Linked DNA regions of Homo sapiens: region 1 is linked to region 2. Evidence: promoter capture Hi-C in human tissues and cell types (Jung and others, 2019). All regions are on one chromosome and are shown on one strand. Each heading gives the region's core, a stretch centred on a gene start or on the middle of the fragment in contact. The rest is flanking DNA. Distances are from core to core; before and after follow the strand shown.

Region 1 (2,700 bases), core at 175-2,674, 1.7 Mb after region 2:
GCCACCCTGAAAGAGTTCAAGGAGAGACTAGCAGGGCATAAATACCAGGGGTGTGTGCAGGCTCTCCAGGAGGAGGTTGAGAGCTTCACTCTCTTCCCTCTGCCTGGCCTGCCTGACTTCTAAAGGAGCCGGCCCACCCTGGATGCACCTGGTGCCACAGAGGAAGCTACCTGCTGGAGGATCCCCTTGAGAGATGTACAAGCTGCCCCACAAGGGACCCACTGACACTTGTTTCCTTTGAGGGGTTTTCTTTTGGACTTTTTTCATGTTTTCTTCACAAATCAAAATTTGTTTAAGTTTCATTGTTATTAATTCTGGGACAGGTTATTACAGGTTTTTAATTTGAACCTGGCTTTCTCACAGCTGGATATAATTATTCTAGAAAAATAAAAATACTGTGTAGCCACTTGGCCATAATCATTTAGACCATGGGGTAGGGCAGAGCTATTAGAAAGATTCTAGTGTTTTACTCTCCCTAGGCTTTCCTTTGCCTTGCTGCAGCAGAGAGGAAATGCTCCTGTCCACAGCTTGTACACACTGCCACTCTTACTATCTTGTTACCCAGCAGCATGCCAAAGGGGAGCTGAATTCGCCTCTGAAGCTTCTGCTGTGTGCTGTAAATCAGAAGTGTACATTAGCCAAGTGTACACAAGGTGCACTCAGTATGGTGGGAGGGTTTTGCTGTCAGTAGTTCAAAGTATGGTGTAGAAAGGGTCTCCTCCCTCCATCCTGGGAAATCCCAGTCCCATACTGGTGTGAGAATCAACCAGGCTTTCCTGCTCCACCTGAGATAACCAACTCCCTCCCATAATCAGGAAACCAAATGTCACCTTCCCAAAGAAACTTTATTTTCACATAGCTGAAGTGCAAAACATATACGACCATTTTTAATAAGCACAATCAAATTTTTAACCACTGAATGTCTATAAGAATTATAGCTTTAAAAATACAATTTTTATATTTCAAAAATATTTGAACTCAAACTAATTTCTTAAAAAGTTAAAAAAGGTAAGATTTAATAGTTTTTGTAGATCATCTCAAAATTAACACATCAAAAAGAGCTTTATCAAGTCCTTTTCTGTCAAAATATTGATGCTGCAGAAATCAAAACCTTGAATTTACTTAAGTATTTTGTGATCAAAATACCAAGAAATACTAGCTACCCATATGAAAAAAAAAAAAGAACCCTAGATCTCAACCTCATTCCTAACACACAAAACCAAAAATAGATGAATTAATAATTTAAATATAAATAACAAAACTGTAAAACAGAAGAAAACAAAGGATGGCACCATCATCAACTACTATGTGGGTACATAAATCCCAAAACTGCTATGAAGGGCAATTTGCCAATAACTCTCAAAATGTTCAAGAAGGCAGAAGAAAACACAAACATAATAAGAAATGAAACAGAAGATATAAGAAGACCTAAATGGAACCTACAGAGATTAAAAACACAGTATTTGACATAATAATATACATGGTGGGATTAACAAGTGATTAAATGCTACAAAAGAAAAAGCTATAAATGTGAAGACATAGCAATATAAACTATCCAAAATGAAGCAGAGAGAGAAAGAAGATTGAAAAACAAAAACCCAGAGCATCAGTGACCTGTGGGACAAATAATATAGCATCCATGTAATTTGAATCCTGGGAAAGGAGATGAGGCAGAAAAAATATTTGAGAAAATATGTAAACAAGGTCCAAATGTGATTACAAAGAATAAAACAAAACAAACAAACAAGAAAACTATGAACCTACAGATCTGAGGAGTTAAATAAACTCCAAGCCAAATAAATATAAAGAAAACCACAGCCAGGCACGGTGGCTCACACCTGTAATCCTAGCACTTTGGGAGGCCGAGGCATGTGGATCACCTGAGGTCAGGAGTTTGAGACCAGCCTGGCTAACATGGTGAAACCCCGTCTCTACTAAAAATACAAAATTAGCCAGGTGTGGTGGCGCATGCTTGTAATCCCAGCTACTCGGGAGGCTGAGGTAGGAGAATTGCTTGAACCCAGGAGGCGGAGGTTGCAGTGAACCAAGATCGCGCCATTGCACTCCAGCCTGGGCAACAAGAGCAAAACTCCATCCCTACGCCAAAAAAAAAAAAAAAAAAAAAAGAAAACCACAACAAGGGACACCATAATAAAATTGCTGGAAACCACTGGTAAAGAGAAAAATCTCAACAGGCAGCCAGAAGAAAATGAAATACTACATACAAAGGAATATAGGTAAGAATGACAGAAGACGTTTTGTCAGGAATGAAGCAAGTAAATAGAGTTACATATTTAAGGTAGTGGGGGAGGGGTGGTGGAAGTGAGAACAGGGTACTGTCAACCTAGAAGTGTATACCTAGCCAAAACATTTTTAAAAATCTTTCAAAATTGAAGGTAAAATAAAGACTTGTTCAGACAATCCAACACTGAAAGACTTCGCAGTCATCGGACCTGCCCCACAAGAAATGTTAAATGAAGTTCTTCAGGCAGAAGAAAGAGGATACCATATGGAAATACGTATTTACACAAAGGAAGAAAGACCAACAGTAAAGAAAACTTTGTGAGTAAATATAAAAGAATTTTCCCTCTCATTAAAAAAACTTTTAAAATGTTTGAATTGTAGTAAAATACACTAACATAAAATGTACCATCCTAACCATTTTTAAGTGTACAATTCAGTAGTATTAGTTATTTTCAC
Region 2 (2,700 bases), core at 99-2,598:
TAAATAAATGGATGGCTACTTCCATGTACTGATAGCATGTGCACATCACTACATTTTTCTGTTTATATATAAATTTCCCCCACAAACCTGGCTACTCCTTGAGGTCTGAGCCTGTCATCTGCCTGAACCCCTCACTCCTAGAGTACCTGTCCCATACATACATACATACATACATACATACATACATACATACAATGTACACAATACACACACCACACACACACAGCTTATGGGGGAGAGATCTTGACAGGTTGAGTTTGGCCAGCTGGAAGGACATTTGAGGAAGTCGCTGCCTCTGTCACCTTCTTCCTTTACCTGTTGGAAAACCTGAAAAGAATCCTCTTGGAGAATATCAAAGCACTTTACTATACTCGGCAAAAAATCCCAGTGGACCAGATAGAATCATACTGAGATTGCTCCTGTATTAAAGATAAGGAAACAGATCTTGGAAAAGTAACAGGCCTGCAGCCCTGAGTATGAACGATCTGAAGGGGAAGAGTTAATTAACAGTAGCCTCATCCAGTGAAGGTTCAGATCTGTGTCTTACTTTAACAGAGTTCTGGGGCAACAGAATAACATGTCAGACTTTCTCAGACCCAAAGCAGGTGTCTAAGTAAGAGAATTATCCCCACTTCTCCCCACTTCTGAGAACTATCCCTGCACCTGCATAAGAAAGCCGGAGCAGCTGGAAAAAGCACATAGGTGAGCAAACAAAAAGATGGCAATTAAAACTTGCAGATCACCTAGTATGCGCTGTGCGCCTTCAAAGCTTTATCTCAATTCTTGCTACAGTTCTAATGTAGGACCTCATTTTATTGCTGAGGAAACAGGTTCAGAGAAACTGGGAAGTTAGCAAGAGATCATACAGAGAAAAAGAAGAGCTCAAATCCGAAACCAAGTCTCGTCCCCTCCAGTGCTCTGCGCTCTCCACTCAACCCCAGGGGCTTACATTTCAGTAGTAAAGAATCGAGGCCATCTCCTCCGGGAGAAAGATAGGCCAGCAGCAAGAGAAACTCACCTTGGCACAAGCACAGAGCGTGAATAGGGTACTGTGGCCTGGGCTCAGTTCTGCACCCCGCCAGAGATCCAACGATCCTCAGCTTAAGTCTGGCGGTGAGGGGGAAGTTCCACCCGGAGGGAGGGGCAGGGGCCGGGCATAAAGGATCACGCGCAGGGTGGACCGCCTTCGCCGCCTCCCGAGGAAGGACCTGAAGGGGATGGAAAACAGAGCTGGGAGGTAGTACCGTCTCCACCTCTGGATCCTCGAGGTCGAACTGGCCGGAACTTGGTCACTCACTCCGCAGCGCGGGTTTGGAGAACTCCTGGGCACAATGAGGCAGGTGGCGCTGGCCACGTGGGCGGTGCAAGGGGCGGGGCCAGCCTCGCCTTTTGCTGGCCCACATTGCACCGCGCGCCTAGGCGCCGCCGCAGGCGCTTTTCCGGGGGAAGTAAGGTAGCAGATGCCACGTTGCAGGTTCTTCTGGTGTCGGCCCTCCGGATTCACAATGCCATCCGTGGCTCCATACTCTCCCTAAAGTCAGGTTGGCTGGATTCCCAAAGTTCACCTAAGTTGGCCCCGTTACATTTAGTTCAAGCAAACTGAGGCCCAGAGAGCAGCTGCAACACCAAGATTGGCCAGAATACAGAAGACCTCGCGTCTGCAGATCCAGGCGCTGGAAAGTGCCTGGTCCCCCTGTCTGGACCATAGACCCCGCCCAGCACGTTATGTGCCAGGCACTGTGCTTAACACTTAATAAACATGGTTTTATTGAATCTTCATAATAATCCTGGAAAAGGAATATTCCTTTTTTTTTTTTTTTTTTGAGACGGAATCTCGCTCTCGCCCAGGCTGGAGTGCAGTGGCGCGATCTTGGCTCACTGCAACCTCCGCCTCCCTGGTTCAAGCAATTCTCTGCCTCAGCCTCCCGAGTAGCTGGGATTACAGGCGCCCGATACCACGCCTGGCTAATTTTTTTGTATTTTTTAGTAGAGACGGGGTTTCGCCATCTTGGCCAGGCTGGTCTTGAACTCCTGACCTCGTGATCCACCCGCCCTGGACTCCCAAAGTGCTGGGATTACAGGAGTGAGCCACTGCGCCTGGCCGAAAAGGAATATTCTTTTATTTCGTACAAGCCTTTTTAAAAATCGTAGTATAGCATATATACAGAAAATACACCAGTCTTTTTTTTTTTCTTTTTCTTTTTTTCCTATTCTACATCCAGGAAGAAAGAAAATGTATAAATCTTAAATGTATACAGTTCTTTTTTTTAAATTATTTTTTGCAATGTAACTGCCATCCAGAGGAAGATATTACCAGCACACCATAAGCCTGTGAGGAAAGTATTCATAATCCATTTTACAGATTGGACAGACTCAGCAAGGTTAAGGCTATTTATAATTTTCCCAAAGTCACACAGGTATTAATTAAATGACACATCTGCGATTTGAAATAGTCTGTGCTGTTTGAGTGGAGAGGTGTCTTGCATGTATGTGTTTTCCTTGGCAGGGATGGGCAAGACACAGGGTTATCTCGGTTTGGCTCTGCTTTTCCCCACACCTTTACTCCCTGAGAGCAACTCTTCCCATTTCCCCACCCCCGTTATCCCCCACTGTCTCCCCAACATAAGTGATGTCCTGGTGGACCAAATGTCTAATGTATCAGGCCATCCTCATAAAAACAATCAGACTTGGCCGGGTGCG

Evidence for each region. Contacts are between HindIII fragments. The study calls those that stand out against the background at their distance.
Region 1: a fragment that was not itself captured here is called in contact with the fragment with the promoter of AKR1A1 in region 2 in 1 of the 25 tissues and cell types used here (pancreas).

Annotation. Positions count from the first base shown.
Region 1 is chr1:43,847,721-43,850,420 of GRCh38, reverse strand. The region is part of intron 5 of ST3GAL3 (ST3 beta-galactoside alpha-2,3-sialyltransferase 3); the gene reads right to left. It also overlaps the pseudogene SHMT1P1. Among named protein-coding and RNA genes, the nearest start is that of MIR6079, 10 kb to the right of the region's middle. The HindIII fragment of the contact is 5,766 bases long and covers 1-2,700 here.
Region 2 is chr1:45,549,474-45,552,173 of GRCh38, reverse strand. It overlaps AKR1A1 (aldo-keto reductase family 1 member A1), which reads right to left and starts at 1,348. Exons shown (of 9, transcript NM_153326.3): 1 at 1,019-1,348. RefSeq lists enhancers at 876-1,095, 1,326-1,555, 1,606-1,665. The HindIII fragment of the contact is 19,939 bases long and covers 1-2,700 here.